Linked DNA regions of Homo sapiens: all the other regions are linked to region 1. Evidence: promoter capture Hi-C in 16 types of primary human blood cells and fetal thymus (Javierre and others, 2016). All regions are on one chromosome and are shown on one strand. Each heading gives the region's core, a stretch centred on a gene start or on the middle of the fragment in contact. The rest is flanking DNA. Distances are from core to core; before and after follow the strand shown. Region 1 holds the start of BBS10 (Bardet-Biedl syndrome 10). Region 2 has its middle 6.4 kb from the start of GLIPR1L2. Region 3 overlaps LOC105369844 (a long non-coding RNA gene). Region 4 overlaps LOC105369844 (a long non-coding RNA gene). Region 5 overlaps LOC105369844 (a long non-coding RNA gene).

Region 1 (5,942 bases), core at 3,004-5,503:
CATACATGAGACTGCAGATTATATTGAATCATATTAAATGTACAGAAATAAAATATTAGATTTATATCAAATTTTCCAATTTGAACCAGTGGGGAAAATCCCACAGAAATCAGTAAGTTTACATTTCAATTTCTATCTTATTTGACTAAGTGGAAAGAGATTCTTTAAAATGTATAACCTGCCATTATGTAATTTGGTTTCATTTTATTCTACCTGTTGTGTGAGTTTAGTATATTTAATTTACTTTTTGTTACTCTTTACATACTGTTTATTTTTGTTAGTTTTTAATTGAAGATGGACTGTTGAAATTGTATAGGACCAGTGTCTTATTAATATGATTAATATATTTAGAAGAGCCACGTGAAACCCATGACAAAATGAATGTGAATATTCTTTCTAAAAATTTAGAAAATGTTATCTTTTTGCATTTATTATGTAAAACTGTTTTACAGTATCAAAATTTTTCACTTAAAGAAAAAAAATGCCATGAAACATTTGAACTGATGAGCCACAGAACTTCAGTTGAAATTTTTTTCACTTTTTAGCATGCTAAATATACATCTGAGTTTAAATGTTCTGTTTAATGGCCATTCATAAATTCAAGCACTACCACTGGTCAGTTTTGTGTGATAGAATAAAAATATGTTACCTGCAGTGTAAGTACAGCACACTGTCAAATTCTTTTCCTTAAGGTGCACAGTAAATGTACAGATAGTTATAGGCCACTGTTTTGTAATGTAGTACATTTCTAATCTATTATTCCTAACCTATTATAACTGTTTGCAGAAAGAAAAGAATTTTTCTAATAATCTGTAAAATTATGCTAACTTCTACAAGTAGGCTTCTAAATAAAATTTTTAAAAAGAGCAAACGGTGATCAAGTGACTTTTAATACAATATGATGACTAAATTATTGCTAATTTGTTTTAATCCCCCCTTTTGTGGGGATAGGGATAGCTGCAAAGGATGGCAAAGGGCTTGAAAGGGATTCAACAGTGAGAATCCCTGAAGTATGCTTTGCTTGGTGCCTTATATTCATTCTTCTCGAATCCTCTATGAGAACCTTAGGTGGACGTTAGCCAGATTTTATACATGAAGATGCTGAGGCTCAGAGAGGTTGAAAGTCTCCAAAAGCTGCGGAGTAAGAGTGGTAGCCGACTCTTACTTTAAGAGTAAAAGCACAAGTTTGAATCTGTATCTCCGTGGTACACTTAAATAGAACTCTAATAGCACTTCACTTCTAAATGTCAGGAATATAATCCACTGCTTGAATCTATATTGAGTAATGTAACCCCTTTGTTATGAGTAGCACCACAAAAAAACCCTACTATTAAACATATACGAAATCCATATGAAAGGGTTTTTTTTTCCCCCCTCAGATCACCTATTAGTCCATACTGAGTCAACATCAGATGAGTTCCGAGACATCATTCCTCTCTGGTTTTCCCCCACCCTCCTTTCTTCCCATTCTTGCTCTCTGCTCAGGGTCCAGTTGCTTCTGGCTGTCATTTGGTTTGGTTTTATTAATTGGGGAGAAAAAGATGGGAGGGCCTGCCGGTTCCTCCTATCTTGTTCATAGCAATAAGGATTAAGGAAAACGGCCCCTCATTGTCCAACCTCGTGAAACATCTACAAGATCATTTTCTTGCTAATACTGGCATGCTTCGACTCTAGATGATGTATGTTGTGCCATTATGCTAGTTGAATCTTCTGCATCTCACAAAATATCACTTGTGGGAATAATAAACCAGGAGAGTGGTGACCTACCACAGTAATTTGGTGGGTGCGTCAGAGGCATCTGAACCAGAGCAACTCCAGTAATTTGGTGGGTGCGTCAGAGGCATCTGAACCAGAGCAACTCCATCTTGAATAGGAGCTGGGTAAAATGAGGCTAAGATCTAGGCTGCATTCCCAGATGATTAAGGCATTCTAAGTCACAGGATGAGATAGGAGGTTGGCACAAGATACAGGTCATAAAGACCTTGCTGATAAAACAGGTTGCAGTAAAGAAGCCAGCCAAAACCCACCAAAACCAAGATGGCCACGAGAGTGACCTCTGGTTGTCCTCACTGCTATACTCCCACCAGCACCAAAGACAGTTTACAAATGCCATGGCAATGTCAGGAAGTTACCCTATATGGCCTAAAGAGGGGAGGCATAAATAATCCACTCCTTGTTTAGCATATCATCAAGAAATAACCATAAAAATCGGCAACCAGCAGCCCTTGGGGCTGCTTTGCCTATGGAGTAACCATTCTTTTATTCCTCTTTCTTAATAAACTTGCTTTCACTTTATGGACTCGTCCTGAATTCTTTCTTGCATGAGATCCAAGAACCCTCTCTTGGGGTCTGGATTGGGACCCTTTTCCTCTAACAGGTGTAATATAAATATCTGTTGAGTGCTAACTATGCCAGGCACTATGCAAAGTGTTTAGTGAACATTCTCCACCTACTCAAAACCTCTTGAGATTTTTATTTTGTATATGTTATCTCCACTGGTTTTTTTGGCGGGGATTGTTTTGTTTTGAGACAAGGTCTCGCTCTGTCGCCCAGGCTGGAGTGCAGTGGTGCAATCTTGGCTCACTGCAACCTCCCTTCCCGAGTTCAAATTATTCTCATACCTCAGCCTCCAGAGTAGCTGGGATTACAAGCATGCACCACCATGCCCAGCTAATTTTTGTATTTTTAGTAGAGACGGGATTTTGCTATGTTGGCCATGCTGGTCTTGAACTCTCGGCCTCCTGTGATCTCCCACCTCGGCCTCCCAAAGTCCTGGAATTACAGCCATGAGCCACTGCGGCAGGCCCATTGTTTTTAAAGATGAGAAAAGCAGAGATCAAAGAGGTTACTTGGTGAATGCCACAGGTAAGGAAATGACAGAGCAAATCCAGGTCTGAATCCAAAGCCCATGCTCTCAAGTGCCTGTGTTTTAGGCCAGGCAAGGTGGCTCATGCCTGTAATCCTAAAACTTTGGAAGGCCAAGTTGGGAGGATCACTTGAGGCCAGGAATTCAAGATCAGCCTGGGCAACACAGGGAGACCCTGTCTCTACTAAAAGAGAAAATAACCAGGCGTAGTGAGGCACAAAGCGACTTGAAGGCTAAGACAGGAGGATCACGAGCTCAGGAATGCGGAGCTGCAGTAAGCTATGATCTCGCCACTGCACTCCAGCCTGGGCGGCAGAGTGAAACTTCATCTCTTAAAAAACAAAAAAAATGTTATAAGAGACAGTATTTTCTGTCTTTGGGTTATATACAATAATCCTTGGCCATGTGTTTTAAAGCATACTGTTGATCACCGACGTGATTAATGGATTTAAATCTGCACAGCGGCTCATGCCTGTAATCCCAACACTCTGAAAGGCCGTGGCAGGTGGATCATTCAGGTCATGAGTTCGAGACCAGCCTGGTCAACATGGTGACATCCCCATCTCTACTAAAAATACAAATATTGGCGGGGCACAGTGGCGTATGCCTGTAATCCCAGCTACTTGAGAGGCTGAGGCACGGGAATCGCTTGAGCCCGGGAGGCGGAGGTTGCAGTCAGCCGAGATTGCGCCACTGCACTCCAGCCTGGGCGACAGAGCGGGAGTCCATCTCAAAAAATAGAGACTTCGCATCATTTCTGCTTAATATATTTGTGGTGTCTAGAGTTTTATTGTGATACCTGAGTCTAGGAAATGTGGTAAAGCCTCTGCAGCAGACATAAAGCCTGCAATTCATGGCTGTGGCCAGGCTCTCCTCACCTGTCCTGCATCTACAAATTATTTCCGTTATGGTAAGGAGAGCAACTCGTGGGGAATGTGGACAGGAACATGCGTGAATCCAAGGCAGAGGTTTTGCCCCGGAAAAAGCAGCTTCTGGCAGGGGATGAAAGCCAGCAGAGTTCCAACCGGGGTGCCCTCTCCTTCACGCAGGCCCCACTACCGTGTTGACTTAGGAAGAAAGTTTCTCGGGAGACTAAGGGATTTGGGGGCAGCGGACGCCACTGGAGGGAGATGAATTCACCTAGGGAGCCGGGGAGGGGCTTAGGGTTGCCGCTCCAGGCACAGCTGCTGGAAATCCTAGTCTGTTTTTTCTGCCTTCGCGTACAACGGGCCAGCTCACCCCACCTGGCAAAGCTGCAGGGCTTTTCCACCAGGCGGACAGAAGGGCAGCCCTCTCGCCCAACCAAGAAGCCGTGCTACCCCGGCTTCGACTCCTGGCTTCCGGGTTTTCTCCCCGCCTATTCCGTTTCCGGCCGTTCCCACCCCTGTTTTCGGTCGGCCCGGGTGTTCTGCAAGCTGGTCAAAAAGGGGAAGCGGCCCAGATATGTTAAGTTCTATGGCCGCTGCAGGGTCTGTGAAGGCGGCGTTGCAGGTGGCCGAGGTGCTGGAAGCCATCGTGAGCTGCTGCGTGGGGCCCGAGGGACGGCAAGTTTTGTGTACGAAGCCCACTGGCGAGGTGCTTCTCAGCCGGAATGGAGGCCGCCTCCTGGAGGCGCTACACTTAGAGCATCCCATAGCCAGGTACCCGCGTCCCACACGCTAACCCGTAGCCGGGCACCCCAGGCAGCCTCTGTGGAGCTCTTGTCCCATCCTGAGGCGATGCGTACTTAGAAAGACTGACCTCGGGTGAAACCGCTGTATGCTCGGAATTAGAGCCCTGCCCAAGGGAACACTCCTGCACCCCAAATCTTACCAATTCTCAAGACCACTTCTCCCCACTCCACCCAACGGTGGAATCTTGGAATAGAGCAGAGTTTTTTCCAAGAAAGGAAAAAACTAAGGATGTATCCAAGGAACAATATTCTCATTTTATGCTTATGGCTGTGTAAACATGGTTTTAAGATGTGGGAAGCCAGCCTTCTGAAAATGAGTTGCTTTATTTCTTTTTTGTACAGGATGATAGTGGACTGTGTTTCCAGTCATCTCAAAAAAACAGGAGATGGTGCAAAAACATTTATTATCTTTCTTTGCCATTTGCTTAGAGGACTTCATGCAATCACAGACAGAGAAAAGGATCCTTTGATGTGTGAAAACATTCAAACCCATGGAAGGCATTGGAAAAATTGTTCTCGGTGGAAATTTATTTCCCAGGCTCTCCTAACGTTTCAGACACAAATATTAGACGGTATTATGGACCAGTACCTAAGTAGACACTTTTTGTCTATCTTTTCGTCTGCTAAAGAGAGAACATTGTGTAGGAGCTCTTTAGAGTTGCTCTTAGAAGCATACTTTTGTGGAAGAGTGGGAAGAAATAATCATAAATTTATTTCACAGTTGATGTGTGACTACTTTTTCAAGTGTATGACTTGTAAAAGTGGGATTGGTGTATTTGAGTTAGTGGATGACCATTTTGTAGAGTTGAATGTTGGTGTCACTGGCCTTCCTGTTTCAGATTCCAGGATCATAGCTGGTCTTGTGCTTCAGAAAGATTTTTCTGTGTACCGCCCAGCAGATGGTGACATGCGAATGGTGATAGTAACAGAAACCATTCAGCCTCTTTTTTCCACTTCTGGATCAGAGTTTATTCTAAATTCAGAAGCACAGTTTCAGACATCTCAATTTTGGATTATGGAAAAGACAAAAGCAATAATGAAACATCTACATAGTCAGAATGTAAAATTGCTCATATCTAGTGTGAAACAACCAGATTTAGTTAGTTATTATGCAGGGGTGAATGGCATATCAGTGGTTGAGTGTTTATCATCAGAAGAAGTTTCTCTTATCCGGAGGATCATTGGTCTTTCTCCATTTGTACCACCACAGGCCTTTTCGCAGTGTGAAATACCTAACACTGCTTTGGTGAAATTTTGTAAACCTCTTATCCTTAGATCCAAAAGATATGTTCATCTAGGCTTGATAAGCACATGTGCATTTATACCACACTCTATAGTTCTTTGTGGACCAGTGCATGGTCTCATTGAACAACATGAGGATGCTTTACATGGAGCACTTAAAAT
Region 2 (5,942 bases), core at 1,546-4,045, 960 kb after region 1:
CTGCAGAGTCCCCAGTAGCAAGAAGGGCCACACCAGATATGGCCCCTTGACTTTGAAATTCTCAGCCTCCATAATTCTAAGAAGTCAATTCCTTTTCTTTATAACTTACTCAGTTTCAGGTATTTTCTTATGAGCAACATTAAACAGACTATGGCAGTAAGCATAATGTTCAGTTTTTTAAGAAACTGCTAAACTATGTTCCAAAGTGGCTGTGCCATTTTGCATTCCCACCAGCAGTGAATGAGAGCTCATGTTCCTCCACATCCTTGTCAGCATTTGGTGTTGCCAGTGTTCTGGATTTTGGCCATTCTAAAAGGTGTGTAGTGGTATTTCATTGGTATTTTAATGTGCGTTTTCCTGGTGACATATGATGCACCTTTTCATATGCTTATTTGAGTACTGTATGTCTTCTTTGGTGAGGTGTCCATTAAGGTTTTTGACCCATTTTTAAATTAAACTGTTTGTTTTTCGATTGTTGAGTTTAAAGAGTCTTTGCATATTGTGCGTAATAGTTTTTATTGCATATATCTTCTGTAAGTATTTTTCTCCCAGGCCATGGCTTGTTTTTTCATTCTCTTGAGAATGTCTTTTGCTGAGTAGAAATTTTTAGTTTTAATGGCACCCAGCTTATCGATTTGTTCTTTCATAAATCATACCTTTTGTGTTGTATCTAAAAGGTTATTGCCAAATTAAAGATCATCTAGATTTTCTCTTATATAACCTTCTGGGAGTTTATACTTTTGTATTTACATTTAGGTCTGTGATCCATTTTGATTAATTTTTGTGAAGGGTATAAAGTTTGTGCTTAGACTGGTTTTTTTTTCTTGTATATGGACGTTCAGTTGTTCCAGAACCATTTGTTGAAAAGACTACATTTCTCCATTATATTGCCTTTGCTCCTTTGTCAAAGATCAGTTGACTTTATTTATGCTGTTCTATTTCTCAGCTCTCTATTCTGTTCCATGGATTTATTTCTACTTTCACCAATACTATACCTTTTAAATTATTGTATTTTTGCTATTGTTTGAATATGTCCCCCTAAATTCATATGCTGGAAAATTAATCCCCAATACAACAGCATTGAGGGGTGGGATCTTTAAGAGGTGATTGGGTCATGAGAGCCCTGTCCTCATGAATTGTATTAATGCCATTATCACAGGATTGGTAAAATATTGAGGGAGTGAGTTCCTGATAAAAGAGTGAGTTCAGCTCCCTTCTTTTGCACATGTGCATGCACTCTCTTCCTCTGTGAACTCCTGCCATCAGATGACACAGCCAGCAGGCCCTCACCAGATGCAAGCTCCTCAACCTTGGACTTTCTAGCCTCCAGAACTGTAAGAAATTGATCTTTTTTTAAAATAAATTACCAAATATCAGATATTCTGTGATAGCAGCACAAAACAGACTGAGACACGTACCCTTATAGTAAGTCTTAATGTCACGTAGTGTTAGTCCTGCAACCTTGTTCTTCTCATCCAATGTATTGGCTGTTCAGGGTTTTTTTGCCTCTTCATATAAACTTTAGAATAATTTTGTCAGTCTCCACAAATTAACTTGCTGAAATTTTGATTGGGGTTACATTAAATCAATAGATCAAATTGGGAATTACTGATATCCTAACAAATTCCTTGTTCATTCTATTATGAACAAGGAATATTTATGAACAAGGAAATAGAATGAACAAATTCCTTCTTCATTCTATTTATGAACAAGGAATATTTCTTCATTTATTCAGTTCTTTGATTTATTTTATCATACTTTTGTAGTGTTCCTCATACAGATCTTGTAAATATTTTGTTAGATTTATGACTAAGTATTTGTTTGTGTGTGCTAAACGCTATTATGTTTCCAATTTTAAATTCTACTTGTTCATGGCTAGTATATAGGAAAGCAATTTAAAGTAACTGACTTTTCTATATTAACCTCGTATCCTGCAACCTTGCTAAAATCATTGATTAGTTTCAGGAGTTTGTTGATTCTTTGGATTTTGTACATAAATAATTATGTCATCGGCAAACAAAGACATTTTTATTTCTTCTCAATCTATAAACCTTTTATTTTCTTGTCTTATTGTATTAGCAAGGATTTCCAGTATGAAGTTGAAGAGCAGTGATGAGAGGGGCATCTGTGCCTTGTTCCTGATCTTAGTGAGAAAGCTTCCTGTTTCTCATCATTAAGTATGCAGTTAGCTATAGCTTTTTTTTGTAAATATTGATATCTTTATCAATATCTCAGGGAAGTTTCCTACTATTCCTAGTTTATTGAGAATTTTTATTATGAGTTCATACTGGATTTTGTCCAGTGCTCTTCCTGCATCTATGGATATAATCATATGATTTTTCTTCTTTAGCCTATTGATGTGATTTATTACATTAGTTGATTTGCAAATTGAACCAGGCTTGTATACCTATGTCTTAGTTCATTTTCTGATGCTTATAACAGAATACTTGAAACTGGGTAATTTATAAAGAAAAATAATTTATTTCTTACAGTTATGGAGGCTGAGAACATAAGGTTGAGGGGCTGCGTTTGGTGAAATACCTTCTTGCTGTTGAGAACTCTCTGCAAAGTCCTGAAGCAGTGCAGGGCATCATATGGCAAGAAGGTTGGGCATGCTAGCTCTGGTCCCTCTTCCCCTTTTTACTAAGCCCTTTAGTCTCACTCCTGTGATAACCCATTAATCCATTAACTTATTATCCTATTAATCCATTAATCTATGAATGTATTGGTTCATTCATGAGGGCAGAGCCCTCATAACCCAATAATCTTTTTAAAGCCCCACCTTTCAATACTGCCTCAATGGAAATTAAATTTTAACATGAATTTGGAGGGGAAAATATTTAGACCAGAGCAATCTGGAATAAATTCCACTCCATCATGTAATATAATTATTTTTATACGTTGTTGAATTCAATTTGCTTAGTATCTTGTTGGGGAATTTTGCATCTATGTTCATGAGAGACGTTGGTCTGTAGTATTTTTTTTCTTGTAATGTTTTTGCAGGATTTTGGTATTAGGGTAATGCTGGCCTCATAGAATGAGTTAAGAAGTATTCTGTTTGCTTTTATCTTCTGAAAGACATTATACAGAATCGATCACTTTTTTCTTTAAATTTTTGGTAGAATTCACCAGTGAATTTATCTGGGCCTGGTGCTTTCTGTTTTGGAAGGTTATTAGTTATCAATTAAATTTCTTAAATAGGAATAGGCCTCTTCAGATTGTCTATTTCTTCTTGCATGAGTTGTGAGAGATGTGTCTTTCAAGGAAGTGGCCCGTTCATCTAGATTATTAAGTTTGTGGGTGTGGAGTTGTTCACAGTGTTGCTCAGTTATCCTTTTAATGTTTATCAGATCTGTAGTGATGTTCCTTCCTTCATCTCTGATATTGATAATTTATGTCTTTTCCCTTTTCCTGTTAGCTTGGCTAGAAGCTTATCAATCTTATTTATGCCTTAAAAAACCAGCTTTTGATTTTATTAATTTTCTCTATTAATTTTGTTTTCAATTTTATTGATTTCTGTTCAAATTTTTATTATTTCTTCTGCTTACTTTGGGTTTAATTTGCTCTTTTTTTTCTAGTTTCTAACAGTGAAAGCATATGCGATTTTAGATCTTTCTTCTTTTCTAATATATTTATTCAATGCTACAAATTTACCTCTAAGCAATGCTTTGCTGCATCCCACAAATTTTGCCAAGTTGTTTTCATCTTCATTTATTTAAAAATATTTTCAAATTTCTTTTGAGATTTTTTCTTTGGACCATGTGTTATTTAGAAGTGTGCCATTTAATCTCTTATTTTGGAATTTTATGGTTATCATTCTGTTACTGATTTCTAGTTCAATTACTAGTGGTCTGAGAGCAGGCATTACATGATTTCTATTCTAAATTTGTTAAGGTGTGTTTTATGGTCCAGAATATAGTTTATTTTGGTAAATGTTTCATATGAGCTCGAGAATATATATTCTGCTATTGTCGAATAATGTATAGACGTCTTATTACATCCAGGTGATTGATGTTGTTGTTGAGTTTAACTATGTCCTTACTGATTTTCTGCCTGCTGAATCTATACATTTCAGATAGAGGTGTTTTGAAGTCTCCAACTATAATAGTAGATTCGTCTATTTCTTCTTGTCATTCTATCAGTTTTGTCTCATATATTTCTACACTCTCTTGTTAGGTGCATATACATTAAGGATTGTAATGTCTTCTTGGAGAATTAACCCCTTTATTATTATGTAATGCCTCTGTTTAATCCTGATAACTTTCCTTGTTTTGAAGTTGGCTGCAGCCAAAATTAATATAGCTATCTTGGTTTCTTTTGATTAGTGTTGTAAAGCTAGATTTTAAGCCCAGGTGACTAAGATAGGAGTATGGAAGGACACACAAAAGCATCTCATTTGGTTTCTGTAGAAAGAAGTGGGGTTTGCTGACAATGTTCTGCAAATATTCAATCTTTCGTATCTGTCAGTGAATCAGCTCCCATTATATACTTCATATAAAAAAATTTTAATGCATTATATTCTATGATATATATTTTCAAAAAATTTAAAGAGGCATGTAATACATGAGAATTATTTAATCATAGTTTCATGAAATACGTATTAAATCACAGGTTGTGTACATTTTCTAATAAGGTTTGAATGGTTGTAGATTTTTGAACTTTGAAATTTGGGGCAAAACAGTTTTAAGTTATTTTATATTGAAAGTGATGGAAATAATTTATCACATTCGGTTTCCTGAGGGCATTGGAATTGTTAGAGGGTATTGACAGAGTCATTTATTTCTTTACAAGGAATGTGGAAAATAAGGTTTCATTAAATTATTTAAATTCTGCTACTTATATACTTTTTGCATACCCATTTAATATTTCTGTTGTCATGTATAACAGATATAGCTTTAATTTTAAAAACAAGAGCAATTTTGGGATAAACTTTAAGCCTCTTGCTTATCTCAGATGATTTGTGAGTTTCCTTAAGTTCTCAGTTTCTGTACACTTGTACACTGCACTTGAAATTATTTTTTAAAATTCTTCTTCTTTTTTTTTTTGAGATGGAGTCTCACTCTGTCGCCCAGGCTGGAGTGCAGTGGCATGATCTTGGCTTACAGCAACCTCCGCTTCTTGGGTTCAAGTGATTCTCATGACTCAGCCTCCTGAGTAGCTGGGACTACAGGCATGCACCACCACACCCAGCTAATTTTTGTATTTTTAGTAGAGATGGGGTTTCACCATGTTGGCCAGGCTGGTCTTGAACTCCTGACCTCGGGTGATCTACCCACCTTGGCCTCCCAAAGTGCTGGAATTATAGGCGTGAGCCACCATGCCTGGTCTACACTTGAAATTTTAAGGAAATAATACTCTAATTCCATATGCTTTTTGATTTGGATAAAAGCTAGCAAATTTAAAAATGTATTTTTAATCTACATTTACTGAAAATGATCATGGGATAAGACTGAAGATACTAAAATGTATTATTTTGTTCTCTGTATAGATGTTATTAGAAACATTGTTTTTATTTTATTGACTCTTTCTCATTGTTTCTTTACATACTCGATTGATCTTTTCTATAATTCAAATTTAAGATTCAGATAATTGTGCATGAGAAGCATTAAAGGAGAAAAGCAAAATGATCCACACATAAAAGCCAACTTTGAAAGGTAGAAAGATAGACTTTACTTCGTTAAAATGTAAAATAGGGCAACTGAGAAATTTGCTAGATAAATGTCCAAGGATTAAAATCCCAGATGCACAGGGAGCCATTCAAATTTCATAAGAGGCTGGGTGTGGTGGCTCATGCCTGTAATCCCAGCACTTTGGGCAGCCGAGGTGGGCAGATCACGAGGTCAGGAGATCGAGACCATCCTGACCAACATGGTGAAACCCTGTCTCTACTAAAAATACAAAAATTAGCTGGGCATGGTGACACATGCCTGTAGTCCCAGCTA
Region 3 (5,942 bases), core at 1,807-4,306, 810 kb after region 1:
TTGGAGGGGGGTCAAGCGGGCAACGTGAGAGATTCAACTGCCCAGTTTTACCTTTGACTTGGGGTTTTATATGTTGGCATTCCACATGTGCCAGCCAGCATTTTGGAGGGGCTGCATGCACAGTGTGTTTACTGAAGTTGTACGCATGCTCTCTTGAGGCATTTTTTTCCTTATCAGTCGCGTGTTCCTAGAGAAAGTTTATACATGAGTTAAACTCTGCCATTTTGCCTCTTAGTGTGCATGCTTGAACCCACTTGCCCAACTCCTCAGATCTTATTAGGAAGCTGCTCACCACCAACTTCGGGTGTTTTTTATCTTTGGGAGACTGCCTTTCCCTGGCACCAGGTGTGACCAATTATTACTTTAGAGAGACAGTTTAACAACTACCTGACCATCACCTGATGGTCACCTGGCATTCCTGGGTGGTGGGGGGACCCTCTTCTGCCCTGCTCATGTCTGTCTAACTACTTACTCTAACAGGCTTACATATTTAAAAGTCTTTGTCAATTCCAATTTAGTGAGCCTGGGATGCGCGCGTGTCATGCACACACACACATGCATGTATGAACACATTTTTAAACTGTTTTTTAAATATATTTATGTTTCTGTTATGTTTGTCCCTAAATCAATGTAGCATTCTATATTGCTTTTTAAAAATATTCTAGGCCAGGCACGGTGGCTCAGGCCCGTAAGCCCAGCACTTGGGGAGGCCGAGGTGGGCGGATCACCTGAGGTTGGGAGTTTGAGACCAGCCTGACCAACATGGGGAAACCTCGTCTTTACTAAAAATACAGAATTAGCCAGGCATGGTGGCACATGCCTGTAATCCCAGCTACTCAGGATGCTGAGACAGGAGAATCACTTGAACCTGGGAAGCGGAGGTTGTGGTGAGCTGAGATTGTGCCATTGCACTCTAGCCTGGGGAACAAGAGCAAAACTCCATCTCAAAAAAAAAAAATAATAAATTGTGACAATGCTTTGTTATTTAAGGGGAAATATACATTTTGGAATTAGGTAAGAGTTCATTTTAATCAAAACATAGCAACACCATCACATGGAATCGCTCAAGTCTGCCAAATTTCTAGTTAAAATGCATGAGTTGGAGAAAACATTTAAGAATATTTGATATGTTTATACCAATCTAGGACTGTTTATCTCTGGACTACTTTACATGAAAGAAAATAATCTTCTAGGTATTTTAAGCTGCAGCTTTTTTAGCTTGTTTTGTTATTTGTAACCAAACAAAACTAATGGAATTCATAACAGATATAGTACCCAAGAATGTGTCAAATATCAACAAGGTAGCAGACATCAACTTTTCATCTAACCTGAAGTTTAGAAAATTGCAGTTCAGTGTCTTCAGGAATTTCTTGATTCTACCTGTTCTGTAGTGACAGCACCTGAAATCATTGTTTTATTGTCTCTCTTTGCAAGAGTGTGGGTATCCCCAAGCATGCCTAAGGGAAATCAGGGGCATATGTTGAGTTCCCTTCTCTGATCAGTTTACATTTTTATTTATAGTTATATTTTTGTGTTTAAGGACAATACATGCCAGTCAACTACAGCATAAAACTGCCGAGGAAGGCCTATTGTTGAGCAAATCACTCTTTAGAAGACAAAAGCATTAATGTATTATTAATACAGTGCCTATATTCTATATGTGGGGTCTGCAGAAATACAAAATTGGCTTCTTGAGACTTGAAATTTGTTTCTTGTCTGGTTCTGCTTTCCCCTGTTTGAACATGTTAGATTTTAACACATCGTTCATACGGTTTCAATTTAATTCCCACACAATTGCTATACTACTTGAACAGAACAAACAAAACTAATAAATAACAAAGAAAGCCCAGGCATTTGAGATCTTTTCAAAATGCTAGTAACACTGTAGATAAAAACAAGTTCTAGGAGTTCAGAAGTTAGTATACAGAGACATTGGGTACTTTATGCTCTAAATATAGCTTTTATTTATTTTATTATTTATATTGGCCCCTTATAAATGTAAAGTAATGAGTTGCCCAAGGGATTTTCTTTATCTCCTTTCATAGCAGTCACTTACTTGTTTATTTAACAAATGTTTGTTAAGCACCTACTATGTGCCAAACACTGTGCTGGACACTGGGCAAAAATGTTTCTTGCCTTCAAGGTGCTTCGAGGACTCCAAGGACTCTAGTGGGCTTACATATCATCTATTAAAAAACACTGCTGATGACTTTTTATCCATAAGACCCACATAACCTAAACACAGGTAAAGAAAGGTAATAGCAACCAAAAATGAAACATAAACAAACTTTAAGGTAAAGCTTCTGCCACAATAATTGTAATTGATAGCATTTACTGGAAATGTAACTATTATCCAGTAGATGCAGTTTTAGGAGGTAATTGTTGTTATAACTCCTTTTTACAAATGAGGAAACTGAACATTACTGAAGTTCCATAACTTGTTAAAATTGTACTGCCAGTAAGGGTTTACAAAGGTTTTTAGCCAGGTAGGCTGACTCTAGAGCCTAGAGTGGTGATATTTTCAAAACTTTTTGTGTAATAAGTCACAACCCCTCACATTCCCAAAACGTTTAAATATCTGAGGGATGTTTTCTGCAGAGTGGGAACTTTTGTTTAATATGCCCCATGATATGTAGCTTGAGACAACCTTGCATTTTTAAAAACAAATATTTTAGCCTTAGACTCTATCCCTCTGAATGGGGAACATCACCTCACCATTGAATTCAGAGTGGTCACAACACTGAGCTTCTCAAAATTAAAAGTATTTTAGTCTTCTTGTCAGTAAATGTAGGGACTGGCAGCTTTTCCATTTAGTTTGAATATTCTAATAGTTATTGATCAAAATCTTATACCTAGAAGATAAAATACTGTGAAATAACAAGGATGATTTTATACAACCTAAACCAGTATGAAGATATTCTGATTAATTTTAGGCTACTTCCAACTGCACCAAGGCCACCCTGAAGTTTCTATATATGAGCTTTCTGTATACAATCAGTATTATTATTATTAGAAGTTGATCAGTTAGAATTACATTCATTGTGACAAACAAAAACCCAGTAAACATTTAAATATCAGGTTTAATGAAGATTGTTCAAGGCTGAGGCGGCTTTTCTAATATGTCATGAAAGAACCAAGTTCATTTTATTTCTGTTCCATCAACTTCACCATGACTTTCATCCTCACAGTTTCATTATTGTTGCTGTATTTCCAGCCATCACATGCCTGTTCCAAACAGGAAGAATGAGAAAAGCGAAGCAATAGGAAGCCTTTTTGGTTTCTAGGGACTTCCTCTACATCTTATAGGCCAGAATTGAGCTACCACGACCTGAAAGAGACTGAGAGTTAAGCATTTCCATTTTCTGGCATCAATAATAGAGGAAAACAAGAGAAGGGTTGGAAAAGGTATTGAAAGAGCCATACTACAGCATCTACTACAGAAGTCATTTGCATCTTTACTTCAGAAACCATGGAAAACATAAGCAGGTTTCTATTTCTCTGTTTATGTGACTCTTCCCCTTATTTTGGTGATGAAAGGCTAACAAGAATAATTTGGGGGTTTTGTTTATCTACTTGATTACTTAAGGGAGAAAAATGAGAGGATACAACCTTCTGAGACAGCACTTTTAGGGCACGTGACAGCTCACTATGAATCAGAAGTGAATAGTACCCCTACCCAGCTTGGTACGCACACAGAAAAGGGGCATTTGTGAAACAGATGGTAAGACCCTACAGGATTCCACAAGGACTTTCTTCGTAGTGTATTTCCAGTAGAGGTCAGTGAGCATCCCAGGTTTCTAAAATTAAGCTTCACTGCTGGCACTCTAGGGATGGTCAAAGACATAACCATTGTCTGCACTTAGTCATTAACAAGTCCTCAAATTATTCTTGCAGAGAATATGCCATTGGAATATGCTTTTGGGATTGGGAAGATTTGAAAAGGATTCCAGCACCTTATCACTGAAAGGGACTTTAGAAATCATTTATTCCAATTCCTCTTACTTTTATCCAAGGAAACCAAAGCCCAGGAAATTAAGTCATTTGCACTGGGATACCCAGATGAGGATCACTTTGGTGTCCTTTTCTACCAGTTGGAAGAAGTAAGGACATTCCTATAACAGGTTTCCATAGCACTATGTGCGTCCCATATGTAATACTTGACCGCAAACATGTGTTTAGCGCTGCTTTTTAGTTTACTGTAGTTTAGTGTCTCCCTTCACGTCTACACTGCAAGTTCATATGCAGGTTAGGAACAACATCTGTCTCATTAAATGCAGTATTTGTAGGGCCCAGTACACTTTGGGGAACAGAGAAGGCACTTGATATATTTTTATGGAATAAATAAAAGACTAGATGGTTCAAGAGATGCTAGCCAACATCGGATAGAGGTTGTAATTTTTATTTCAAATTACCAGCATCTCTAAGGCAATTGTTATTTAGGTCATCTGCAGAAATTGGGTGAACAGCCAATACTACATTCCACTAAGAGAACATTTTTCTACCTGCGCCGTTCCTGACCCCCTCATCACCCACTTTCCCAGGACTAAGGATCATTTAAGCCCCCGCTGTGTGTGAATCTGTGAGTGAAGGCAAATAAAGATATTTTCAGTAACATATTCCACTATCTGGGAAGACATTGGTTACCTGACAGTGATATAAACCCAGTAATTCTGGGTGGGGATTGAACCAAACATATGCTTTTAAGTTGAGAGCTAAAGAAAGTGTAACAGTATCTGTCATAATAAATCCCAAGGAATCTTCATTGAGCTGTTTAGAGTGGTATGGAATGTGTAACCAGTTTTCATATTCTCCACCTTGTACCCTATATCCAGCTGGAGTTCAACGATAAAAACACTTTTTTAAATTTTTGGCATATCTTTAGGATCTGCTGTTTATCTTATGTTTTTATCAGCTTACTTCTGTGGGGTAGTCTCAGTGTTTGCAAGGTTACAGTGATAATTTTCTATCTAATTTTATTCCAAATAGAGTTGCTATTTGGATGGCTGGGGGCTAGAGCATGCCCTCAGATTGCCTGGTCAGAAAGGAATGCAAGTAGTTGGAAATCTTTCAGTTATTTGTTATCCAAGGTAACAATGCATTTTAGAAGGAGGAATCACTTGTTGTTGCTATTTCTAAATCTATTTATAAACTTTTATGTTCGCTGAAGGACGAGACACCCTAGAATTAGGACTGATATAGATTTAGAAAGATCAGATGGTTATTTAAGACCTTTTGAGAGCAGATAAGGCTCTCCCTAGAAGTTAAAAAAGAAGAGGTTTGACTCTTAAAGGCTATAATTTCTACCACTTAAAGGGATTATTATATAAACTGAATATTAGCATTATATTTTCTGTTAAATTACAGTCTAAACAAATGGCTTTTGATGTTAAGCTGATTGTCCTAACCAAAATATTATCTTATTATTATTCATTTTTAAACACTGGTGCATCCCAACCACTATATGTTCCCATTTTGCCAAATAAATCTTATGCTCTAAAATTATAATTATAATTAAAATTATATCTCATTGAATTTTGTTGAATTCTATATCAATAATTCCTCATCTACTTAGTCCACAAATATGTGACAAACATAAAAAATGGCAAAAACTCTTAATTTATGTGATTTTTTTCCTTTCTCTACCCTAGTACCTTTCACTGAAGACAAATTTATTGTAAAATTTCTACTGGGATTCATTGTAGGTAAGGACATTTAACTTATTAATATCATGGGACTTTTCAATGAGTTTTTCATGAACAGGCATTGTAAGATTAGCTCTTCTGGCATTAGACCTTTAGGTCATAAAATACATCAAGTTTGCTGTTTCTTTCCTCTGTCCTCCTGCCTCATTTCCACTAATAAACTTCAACCACCACATAATTATTTTAAAACTAATATTATTAAGTTTTCAAAGTGGTGACTCTTGATAAGTTATCATAGAT
Region 4 (5,942 bases), core at 2,385-4,884, 790 kb after region 1:
AATTTTTGTGTTTGACACCTTCTTAGGGGACAGTTTCATATCAGGTGTCATTTCACATTAAGAAGCCAAATTTTGTGGATGCTTATATACACTCGAGAGTATGAACACAGTCAAGCTGGCTGTTATTGTTGTCAGTTCCCAAAATAGTGATCCGACATCCATGCCCAAAGGAGCATAAACCACAGACTTGTAAAAGGGGTACTCCTGGGAAGCTAATGTTGGGGGATAATCTCCAAAACACTCATACCTTTCATTGCTTCATAGATTATATCTAATGTCCTTCAAGGTTATAAAAATAGTTTACAGAGCATCTCTACCATAAACTGCTCTGTCCCTCCATAAAACAGGCCAGTTGCGTAGCTGGAAATGTTTCTGCAAGACAACAATGGCTGATAGGAGATTGAGCATAACCAAGCGCTTGATACAAACCATCTGCTTTTCTCTGAATGGTGTCCTTGAGTCTTCATTCTTGCTCAGTGTCCTGTGAAAGGAGCTGAAGCTGCTGCCACCTGATCCCAGTGTTTCATTACTGCCTGTCCCTGACCTGTGCGTTGACTTTTCATTGCCCTTTCCCTTAAAAACAAAGCTCAGGTCTCCCTTGGGCTAGAGAAGGGTGATGGTTGAGGTTAGAATGGGGGTCAAAAATCAATAGAGGAATCCAACTACTTCTTTGCTGAAGCAAACCAAGCACAAATTCTCCGAAGTTAGGTAAACAGACCTGTGTGCAAGGTGGGGAAAACTGAGTGGAAAGCAAAAGGAAGGAGAAAAATGAGGCAAATAACCTCCAAACATGTTTCTCATAGCTAACATCCTGGCACAATTTAGAGAAATGTCAAAGTTTACTATTGCACTTATTAGAGCTAGTGAGCTCCCAAGGTAAATGGAGAACTAAAAGGCCTTCATAATGCGTATTAATTCTTATAAAAAAATCTAAGGACTTCATGTCTTCTGACCAGCATGCAGCACATTCATGGAAACTGAATTCTTACTACCACATGTGTTTTTATTTTTAAAAAACAAAGTGAGAACAGGTTAATACTTCAAGCTTTCCTCAAGCAAATTGTTGGACTAGTTCAGATGGTTCTCGAAAGAGTAATTGCTCTTCCTTGGACATTATAGGCAGGACTATTCTAGAAGAAAAATCCACTTTGAATCACATAACTAGTATTGTTTTCTATAAAGCAAAAGTCGTTATGAAGATAGGCAAAGGACTAGTTTTAAAGGATCATCATGGACCTTTTATTAGAAATCTCTAATAAGGAGGAATAATAGTGATTCTGACAATATTTTTTTCAGAAGGTGACAAATGAATTGTTGACACGATAATGAACTTCATTCTTAGTTATTTAAATTAACATTAACATATTTTTCTTTACATTGACAGCTTATAATTTAGTTGTGCACACAACAAGTATTTTCTCAAAGACCTATTACGTGCTGAAAATAAAGCAAGATATTTTTGTTAGAGTGGATCAACAAGAGGAAGGATCCTTCTTTAAAAAATATCTCTTGAAGATAGATGAAGAAATAATGCATCATGATGAATTATTTAAGTATAGAATTCACTCAAATGTCATCTGTTGCTTCTGATCTAGTGAGAGTTGTTGGATGCGAAAGATAGTAAAATACCTGCGTATACATACATAAAGCCCAAAGTTCAACAAGTAACACTTCTCTGCCTCATGAACCTCTGTCATCTCTCTGATGAAGAATACAGAGAGAAGGCAATAAACTGCAAATGTTATGACTACATTTCCAAAGCCTCCTTACCAGATCACATCCTGTCGGAGAGATAGCATGAGGGATTTGTGCACACGGAGTCATGCAGCAGGTGAACCCAGGTCAAATGTAACATCACTATAGCTGTGATTTCAGATCCTTTGCAGGTATCCCCTTAAATTGACTTTTATGATATTATAATAAAACGGGAATAGGATTTCACCAGATTTAGAAGCTCTTATAGTTATTGACTTCTTCTGAGGATGCCTGAAGCTTCTTCTTATGGTCAGAGGCTGCATGAAACTTTTGTTGCTGTTAGGTTTCAGAAAGCCATTTAAGGTATACAGCTAAAATACACCTTGCAGAAGCGAAGCTAGGATACACAATTCAAGAGGCAGCTCCTCATTTATACTATTAACTCAGCCAGCAAATATTTATTGAATGCCTACTATGTGCCAGTTACTACTCTAAGTTGTGGAGATATTACAGTGAATAAAAACAAAACAAAACAAGTATCTTTGCCCTTATAGACTCATGTTACACTGTTGTTGTTTAAATAAAATAATCCCCTCCCCCAAAACACACACATCCTTTTAGGTAATTTCCACACTGTATTGCCAAACTGTATGTGCCTTAGGTAGGGATATATTTGGCTACAAGTAAGAAAAAAATTTGACCAATCGTGGTTTAAACAAATAGAGCTCTCCCTTTTCACTTGGCATAAAGTCTGTATGTAGAGAGTCAGGAGGCTTATACAGCAGCTCAACTGTGTCATGGGGGATTTAGTTTTTTTCTGTCTTAATACTTTGCAGTGCATAGCATGATGGTTGTTTGTCATGGTTATAGGATGGTTGCTACAACTCCTGGCACTATGTCTGTACTCACAGCAGGGAGAAAGGGAAATGAGTGTCTAGTCTTTATTTAAAGAGGAAAATAAAATTTTCACAAAACAATTTCTAACGTATTTCAAATTATGTGTCATTGACAAGACTGTACCACATGACTACCCACATCTGCAAGCGAGGCTAAGAAAGTGAGTACATAGTATTTATAGCCTCGATAGTGAAGGTAATCAAGCAAAGAACAGGGTTGGGAATGGGTGTTAAGTTAGCTAATCTAGACTGTAGTTTATATTGATTACAAAAACAAAACAAAGCAAAATAGAAAATCCAGTGTTATTTAAACATAAGACTGGTTCATTTTTACATCTGTTAATTTTCTTAATGTGTGACTGAATGCATGAATGCCTTGTCAAAGTACACAATGTCCTGTAAAAGCCTGAATAATTGAATAAATGAATGAATGGTCTAATGCAACTGGCACCGGCAAAAGATTGTCTGAAACTCTACATGGACAATTGTTTTGGCTATTTCAACTACTTCGATTGCTTATTTCAGTAAAAATTATCAACAAGCCTGACTATAATCTTAATTATTATCAAAGTTAGCATGCTTTAAAAAGTTCCATTCAATAATCATTTATTAAACAATGACTATAAGGTAAATACTAATCCTGAGAGTTGCATAGAAAAATAAGACAATATTTAGGCTGGGTGCGGTGGCTCACGCCTGTAATCCCAGGACTTTGGGAGGCCGAGGCGGGTGGATCACGAGGTCAGGAGTTCGAGACCAGCCTGACCAACATAGTGAAACCCCGTCTCTACTAAAAATACAAAAATTAGCCGGTGAGGTGTCACGCGCCTGTAATCCCAGCTACTCAGTAGGCTGAGGCAGGAGAATTACTTGAACCCGGGAGGCAGAGGTTGCAGTGAACCAAGATCACACCACTGCACTCCAGCCTGGGTGACAGAGTGAGCCTCCATCTCAAAAAAAAAAAAAAAAAAGAAAGAAAAATAAGACAATATTCCTATGTCAAAAGGTAAATGCTCAAGAAGAAACAGATAAGCAGATCTGCACACAGTGGGACACCTAACTCTGCCTGGGAGAATCAGAAACGTTTTCATAAAGAGTTGTGTATGTGCTTTTCTGTTGTGTGTGAAGAAGGGGATGAAACAGAAAAGGAAGACAAGGAAAGAGATAGATATAGGCTTTTTCAGGCAAAGGGAATAGCATGTGAATGTCATAAAGGCATGTGAGTACACATTAAGTAAGAGAAACACTTTGGTATAGCTGTGTGGCATGATACAATGTTAACGAATGTCGGAATCATGCATACCTGAGTTTGAATCCCAGTTTAGGTTCTTTTTTGTTGTGAGACCTAGTAAGCTCCTGAATGTCTCGGTTTCCTCATCTCTAAAATGGGGATAAAATATCCATTTACTTGCATTATAGGGAATTTGGAGGATAAAATGCCATGATACATGCACATGAGCTATGATGCCTGACACAAAGATAATATCAATGTCTGTATCTGTTGTTGTTATCATTATCATCATAATTACCAAAACAATATTGTGTTTTGAGAGTAACGGGAGACAAAGAAGGAAAGGTCAGTAAGTGTAGGTCATGAAGAATGCAAGGCAAGGTGTTACTAAGGTATTACAAAATACAGCCACAAATTTCTCACAACCCTGTAGACATCCTCTTTGCAATGTAATGTTGCTGTTCCTTCCTTCAGGAGGTAAAATTTATTTCTCCAACATCTTGAATCTGGGCTGGTCTCATGATCTGTTTTGATGAATAAAATGTGGCAGAGGTGACATTGTGCAATTTATGAGCTGAAGCCTCAAGAGGCATTTCCAGCTTTCAGTTTTACTATCTTAAAATCCAGCTCCCTTATGAGAAGATCCCAGCCAGCTCGCTGGAGAGCCCATGTGGAGGGAAACTGAGGCACACTAGTTGAAAGCCCTAGTCAACTGCCATCTGGGACCAGCTAGTCGCTAGCTGAACTGTCACCTGACCACAAAATACATAAGTGAGCCCAGCAATACCCTAGGGAGCAGGGACAAAGTATCCCAGCTGATCTCTTCTTCAACTGCCAAACCCAGAATTGTGAGCAAATACATAGTGACTGTTTTAAGCTACTGAGTTTTGGGTGTTTTTTTATATGCCAGTAAATAACCGAAAGAGAAGCATAAGAAGTTTTACTTTACCCAGGAGATAAGAAATAATCTTTGAAAGATTTTTAACAAGGTAATGACCTCAACAGATTTTTATTTTAGGAATTTCATCCCAATGCCAGCATAGAGGTTCACTGAATAATGTTACTGAAAACAAGTAAAGAAGATAGAAGATATTAGGAGTAATAGTTCAGTAAAACTTGATGAAGATCTGGGCGATGATAGAAGAGCAAGAAAAAAGCTACTTGCCTGAATGAGGAACCTCAGAAATGCCCTGCATGCTTCATTGAATGATCTGCAGAAAGATTCCTAAAATTCTTCATACTTTTTGAACAAGGAGCATGCAGTTTTACTTTGCACAGGGCCCTGAAAATTATGTAGCTGTTTCCAAGGAAGGAATTCACAGAAACTGAGCTTCAGGCCTCACATATTAGGAGGTAAAAAGGATCTGACTCAGTATGTTCTTGGTTGTGGCAGTTTAGCCACCAAGACTCTCAGGTTTGTGAATGTTTGGATCTCTCAGTGGCAGTCAAGCTTTGATTACTCTGATGCTAAAATCAGTGGCAGTTCCACACAGCAGAAACACCAAGAATAAGAAAAGCATTTCCAATCTTCTCTTTCCTAAGAGCTACCTGAGTGGCATTGAATGAGTCAACCTTCTCCAGCTTCCTCATTCATGAAATGCAGTGCTAATCTTGTCCCTACACAGCCACAGGATTGTGACAATTAAGCGGACATGTGAATGAAGCACTTTAAATTCCCCACAAAGGAATGCATTCAGCTAAACAGAGGGACTAAAAATAATTCTATTAACAACCATAATCCTCAGGTGGTGTCCTCAGCTCAGGTCCTTCTGAGGTGGCTATGGCTGCATGCTGTTTAGAATTTCTGAATCAAAATGCCTGACACTTTTCTGAGAGATAAAGAGAAGACGATAGATAGATAATCATTTGATTGGGCTGGCTGTGTGTTTATATGTTGTAAACTCCTTTTCCTTTTTATTTATTTACACTGTCTCATAATTTAAATTTTCTGCATATATTCAATCATCAAACATTTGTTGAACATATTATTATGTACTGGGCACCATGCTATGGGCTAGAAAAGAGGAACCAGAAGGGGCCCCTGCCCTCAAGGAACTCATAGTGTATAAATTGGAGATTGATACAAATAAACAACTAGAAAGTAATGTGGCAATGTTAAA
Region 5 (5,942 bases), core at 1,261-3,760, 770 kb after region 1:
TCATTATGATATTATGCTTTTTCAGTTCATTCATTAATTTGTCCAGTGTGTACTGCCTGTGCTAGCTATAACACACTCTACTAGACCTTTGAGGGAGTTGCAAAGATTATTACTGCTTTCAGCAACCCACGACTTGAGGGAGAAGGCAGTGTGATGGAGTAAGGCACAGCTAGCTTGACGACAGTATAGGATAAAGTAAGACAGGAACATAGGTGAGAATTAAGCATTTAGAAGTTGAAAGATGGGATTCAGTTTGATCAGGATAGGGGTCAGGAAAGACTTGTGAAGGCGATGCCATTGAGGATGGTTCTCAGCATTCTCTCCTCTATGATGAGAGAATAAAATGCAGTGGATGAGGATGTCCTCAGGGATGAACCTTTGCTATCAGGGATGTTACATTTGGAAGGGATCTCAGAGACACTGCGCTTAATTCTCTCATCATAAAGGAAAGAATGCTGAGAACCAGAAACGTTGAGTGATTTCCCAAGGTCACACTCACCCATCTGTAACCTCTACTTCAATTTCAAATCTGAATGCTTGTTTAATGCTTTTTAAAAAACAGTTTTGACAGATTTGTCCTGATTTTAGTGCTAGTTACCTGACTCACGTCTTAAGGATACTCTCGAGGACCAAATAAAATAAAATAAGATGTAGTAATTAGGAAAAATCATTACGGAAAAGTAATGCTGACTAGTCAACTCTAATGTAGAGTCTGACAGATTTAGTGCCAAGTCAGGCTTGGAAGAGAAGAGGAAGTAGCAGATGGAGTTTTATGCTGGTAATGACAGCAGGTGGGAAACAGGTAATAGCAAACAGATGGGCCCCATAGTATATAAAGACCACCAGCATCTCATTTTCTAATGCTTTGTTCCCAAATAGTAGTAAGATTCAATTGAGTTCTTGTAAAAATCTTATTGAACACAAACTCACTATTAGGTATAATGTTAGGTATCACAGAGGGACAGTTTAAAAATAAAACTGTTACTATACTGAAGCTCAAGAAAAGTAGGAAATATGACACAAGTACAAAAAAAGAACAATATAATACAGAAGAGCACAAATAAATGCTGCAAAAGAAACACAAAGTGTAGGATGAATCTGGTCTATAAGGGTAAAGGAGTCAGAAAGCAAACAAAAATGTTCAGACAAAGAAAGGCTCAGAAGCAGGTAAATGCCAGAGAGGATTTGCTTAATTGTGAATGGCACAACACTGCTAGAGACAAGCAAACATGTGTCATGGAAGAGCAGAATAATTAGGTGGTACAGACCCCTAAACATCACTGTCTGGCTTGGAACAAGACACTCAAACCCTCTCACCTTCCATTTCTTTATTTCTAAAATGAGATAGTTTCCATAACCACTTCCAGGTTTAGGAGTTAGTAATCTCTAATATAGAATCTCCTTAAATTTCTTAGTCTAATATTTCCCAAAGTATGAGGTGTGTGATCCCAGTGAAATGGAGATTTTAAAGAGTACATATGTAATATTTATGTTAGTAATTACATAATTTTTAGTAAGGTTGTCTTGTATTTAAAGCAAGTGATAGTGATTTTCATTTTTGTAGTGTTAGAAGTTTTCTTTAAAATTTTTATTTAAGTGAAAAATGTGTATCAAGTTATAGAAAAAATTTAACTATTTCCATTGATGTGTCACATTTTCAATTCATACATGTTTTCTGTGCATACTATAACGTAGCTGTGTTTGTTTTGCTATCATCGATTCATTCATTCACTGAACAAATATTTATAGAGTACCAACCATGTGTCCTGCTCTAGGCAGCATTGACAATCTGGTAAACAAAACAAACAAAATCTTTGCCCTGTGGAACCATCATTCTTGTAAAGTGAGATTGACAGTAACAATAAACATGACAAAAAAGTAAATTATATAGGGTCTTAGTAGGTGATAAGTGCTAGAAAAAAAATAGAACAAGACAGGAGGACTGGGAGGGCTAAGAGGTATGTGATAGATGAGATGGTCAAGTAGTCTCTTTAGGGAGGAGCCATTTTATCAAAAATTTCAAAGAGATGAGGGAATGAGCCATGTGAATATTTTAGGGGAGGAATAATATTACACTTTACTTACCACTGAGTAAAACTGATGTTCCTACACCCTGGGCTCACATATGCCCATCGTTATTAGGGGAGAAACATATTAGAACAAAGCTTAAATTCATGATGACATCTCTGTGCCAGGTATATTCTAATTTGAGACACAATTTGAAATGCTAGAGGGACATCTTATGGAGAAACCCAACAAGCCAATGGATATATGGAGGCGATATCTGGAATTTGAAGTAGACTTTGGGGTCATTTTTATAGCTTTTATTTTTAAAACTGTGATATTGCCAAGAAAAAGGGATAAAACAGAACCTTAGCAACCTGTTACTTCTGTAAGGGATGGGAGGGTGGACAGAGATGGAGGAAACTAACTTGTGTTATGTGCCAGGCCCCAAGCTAGCAAGGCAGTTTGCATACACTATGCATTGATTGCACAAGAAGTAGGCAATGAATATGTAATAAACATGTTTATTTTTCAAGGAGTTTTCTGGGAGAGGTGAAAGAAGCTAGTGGTGGGCAAATCTGTGGTCTCTAATATATGTAATGGCTCCGTCTATAACGTCTATAATGGATGTAATGGCTCACGTCTATAATCCCAACATTTTAGGAGGCCGAGCCAGGAGGGTTGCTTGAGCCCAGGAATTTGCCAGCCTGGGCAATATAAGGATTCCCCCATCTCTACAAATAACAATAAGAACAAAAAAAAGAGATTCCCCCATCTCTACAAATAATAATAAGAATAAAAAAAAGTTAGCCTGGCGTGGTGGCATTCACCTGCAGGCCTTGGGAAGCTTAGGTGGGAGAATCACTTAAACTCAGGAGTTTGAGGCTGCAGGGAGCTGTGATCATGCCACTGCATTCTAGCCCAGGTGACAAAGCAAGACCCTGTCTCTAAAAAAATAGTAATAATAAAATAAAGTGAGAAAACCCTGGGTCCAAATATTCACAGTGGAGCTGACTTACTTCTCTGAGCTGACTTCTTCCTCTAGAGCACAAGGCCAGTGACAGTAACTGCATCACTGGGTTGTTACGAGATAATGTATGTCAAATCTCCTGCTACATAGTAAGACCTCAGTAAATGCTGGCTATTCATTTAAAGTAAAATAAAAAGATAATATGGTAGCTTACAATAACAAATGAACTGCTTTTTATGGCTGTGTTATTTTAAAACCATGAGATATTTGAGCATTTTTATTTTTATACTAGCAATGAAGAAAAAATTCAGTTAAACAAGAACTTCCAGAATTAAACAAGTTTTTCTTACTTTTTGCAATTATTGAAAAATTCGAATGGGATCTGTTCTATTTTATTTTTTAAATTTGGTTGGTTTTACTCTCTCTTTTTAAAAACTGAAAATCCCTTTAGATTTTGGCTGTTCTCTGTAGAAAAATACATATAAATATGCTAAAAAAATTTCCAAAATTTGGAAATAAAGCAAAATGATAACTATGACATTCCCAAGTTTTGCTTGAGCAGTGTCCAATAAGCCTGATGAAGGCTCATCTGATTCTTGAAATATAGCTTTGCCTGATTACTGTTTACTATTGATTAGAGTCCAAATTATAAAATTACTTCTTAACTTGTAGAAATTTCATTGGATGACAATGATTTTTGTCCAGATGAGATGCCAATGATTTCTCTCTAAAAGGGAGATAATTCTAAAATTTATGTTTTGATTGTCGTGTAGTACATTAACCAGTTTTGAATCTAATTTAGCAATCATATTCCCGCATTCTTTCTTATACTTTCATTGGTGACTTACATCCTTCTTTGAACTATTTTTGACATCCCGCTGGATCCTCATTAATAACTTAAGTAAATCTTTGTCATACTATGCTCACTATGAATTTGTATGAGAGTTACATTTGTAACTTATTATTATTATTATTATTTTTGAGATGGAGTCTCGCTTTGTCACCAGGCTGGAGTGCAGCGGCGCAATCTTGGCTCACTGCAACCTCTGGCTCCCTGGTTCAAGCAATTCTCCTGCCTCAGCCTCCTGAGTAGCTGGGATTATAGGTGCGTGCCACCATGCCCAACTAATTTTGGTATTTTTAGTAGAGACGGGGTTTCACCACGTTGGCCAGGATGGTCTTGATCTCCTGGCCTCATGATCTGCCCGCTTTTATTGTTGTTTGAGAGGGAGTCTCGCTATGTTGCCCATGCTGGAGTGCAGTGGCGTGATCTCAGCTCACTGCAATCTCTGCCTCCTGGGTTCAAGCGATTCTCCTGCCTCAGTCTCCTGAGTAACTGCGATTACGGGAGCATGCCACCATGCCCAGCTAATTTTTTGTATTTTTAGTAGAGACAGGGTTTTACCACATTGGGCAGGCTGGTCTTGAACTCCTGACCTCAAGTAATCCACCCGCCTCAGCCTCCCAAAGTGCAAGGATTACAGGCATGAGCCACGGCACCTGGCCATACATTTATAACTTTAAAAAAATTATACTTTAACATACAATGTATCAGGGTTTAAGCAAAACCATACACGCTTATTAGTTTATACAGTTATTAAAATATATATTTATAATATATTTTAGTATATTTAATATATAAATATATATTTATATTTTATTAACTGTATATAATATCACATATAATATGCATATATTTATATATAATGTATGTATATATTTATATATAAATATATAAGCAAATATTTATATTATATATTACATATAAATATATATTTACTTATATATAAGTAAATCTTTACACATATAAATATATATTTACATAAGTAAATATATATTTTTCAATTTTCAATTTCTTAATTTTCAATTAAGAAATATATATTTCTTAATTGTAGGGATTTGTCCTTACAGTGCTGTGGAAACTGGTGAAGAGGTCTGAGTTTGGATATAAAGCTGTAGTTTCTGGCCTGGTGCTGGCACCTGAAGTCCACAGACAGCTGGGCAAAGAAGATGGATGGGAAGCAGAGGAAGAAAAGGCAAGCTGAATGAAGGAGAAACTGGTGCCTTCCATCATGGAGCTAAATATGCATCTGGTCCAGGATTCAGGGAAATTGATGCAGCAGGAGGATCTGGCAGGAGCCCAGCTGCTGCCCCTCACCAACAAGGTGAGCTTGTGGATAAGTGACAACATGCATGAGTTCCAACAGTGCTTGGAGCCCTGCATCCATCTTCCAAGCATAAAAAAACAAGATGGCTACTGCTTCACTTCCACTTTCTACATCTTATGCAAAATGTCTCTTGAGGTCCACACTGTCCAAGAAATCTGCAGAAAAGACATATGGAAGACTTAGTTCTAAGCCAAGTTGATACAATAGACATCTATCACACACTATTTATCATAAGATTTGGTGAGGGACGGGGGGTTCACAGATGCCCTAAACCCCACTGATAGATAGCCTAGGGGTTTATGAGCCTTGGATTATTAAAAATCTCTCTTCTAGTGTTCATGATAATAGGAATGGCATCAGTGACTTAATTAAGAAAACATCACCTTCTGAATTTAGGCTGATCCGTGTCAATGAGTTTTAATAGCTGGAAAAATTTGTATTTTAGTTACCTTTCTAATTTTCTCTTCACTTGAGAGCCTGTCAATCTTCTCAGTACTCAGGAGTCAGTCTGTCAGTACTAAGGAGTCACATTCTTTACAATGCCTTTTTAAAATGTTAAGTTTTATTTCCTAATTTTTCAAGCAAATGCACATATTATTAAAAATGTATATGCCACTGACTTTAGTCATAATTAAATAAAATAAATGAGTGGTTTTTCTTTGAAATCAAATGTATCAGGTAATTTTAAGCCATGGAATTGTGTTTAAGTTATTGCCATTTATTTTGAATTTTTAAACTTATTGAGCACTGGGTCCTCCTTTATTCTTACTCTAGTTTTTCACTTTTGCCCTTATGAATCT

Evidence for each region. The method cuts DNA at HindIII sites, captures the fragments that hold promoters and counts their contacts. A CHiCAGO score of 5 or more calls a contact.
Region 2: a contact is called between a fragment that was not itself captured here and the fragment with the promoter of BBS10 in region 1, in 1 of 17 cell types (neutrophils). The highest score is 8.1, in neutrophils.
Region 3: a contact is called between a fragment that was not itself captured here and the fragment with the promoter of BBS10 in region 1, in 12 of 17 cell types (M0 macrophages, M2 macrophages, naive B cells and 9 more). The highest score is 14.1, in M0 macrophages.
Region 4: a contact is called between a fragment that was not itself captured here and the fragment with the promoter of BBS10 in region 1, in 3 of 17 cell types (M0 macrophages, M1 macrophages and M2 macrophages). The highest score is 6.5, in M0 macrophages.
Region 5: a fragment that was not itself captured here is called in contact with the fragment with the promoter of BBS10 in region 1 in 1 of 17 cell types (M0 macrophages); the score reaches 6.3 in M0 macrophages.

The regions. Positions count from the first base shown.
Region 1 is chr12:76,346,726-76,352,667 of GRCh38, reverse strand. BBS10 (Bardet-Biedl syndrome 10) reads left to right here and starts at 4,253. Exons shown (of 2, transcript NM_024685.4): 1 at 4,253-4,506; 2 at 4,881-5,942. The coding sequence starts at 4,310. It overlaps OSBPL8 (oxysterol binding protein like 8), which reads left to right. Exons shown (of 24, transcript NM_020841.5): 24 at 1-871. RefSeq lists enhancers at 3,852-3,901, 3,048-3,997, 3,998-4,947. The HindIII fragment of the contact is 11,737 bases long and covers 1-5,942 here.
Region 2 is chr12:75,381,743-75,387,684 of GRCh38, reverse strand. It overlaps a transcript of CAPS2 not described here. Among named protein-coding and RNA genes, the nearest start is that of GLIPR1L2, 6.4 kb to the left of the region's middle. The HindIII fragment of the contact is 1,274 bases long and covers 2,159-3,432 here.
Region 3 is chr12:75,532,554-75,538,495 of GRCh38, reverse strand. It overlaps LOC105369844 (a long non-coding RNA gene), which reads left to right. Exons shown (of 16, transcript XR_007063375.1): 13 at 5,649-5,702. Among named protein-coding and RNA genes, the nearest start is that of KRR1, 24 kb to the right of the region's middle. The HindIII fragment of the contact is 1,508 bases long and covers 2,303-3,810 here.
Region 4 is chr12:75,553,110-75,559,051 of GRCh38, reverse strand. The region is part of intron 12 of LOC105369844 (a long non-coding RNA gene); the gene reads left to right. Among named protein-coding and RNA genes, the nearest start is that of KRR1, 44 kb to the right of the region's middle. The HindIII fragment of the contact is 3,280 bases long and covers 1,995-5,274 here.
Region 5 is chr12:75,574,546-75,580,487 of GRCh38, reverse strand. It overlaps LOC105369844 (a long non-coding RNA gene), which reads left to right. Exons shown (of 16, transcript XR_007063375.1): 10 at 4,870-5,139. Among named protein-coding and RNA genes, the nearest start is that of KRR1, 66 kb to the right of the region's middle. The HindIII fragment of the contact is 686 bases long and covers 2,168-2,853 here.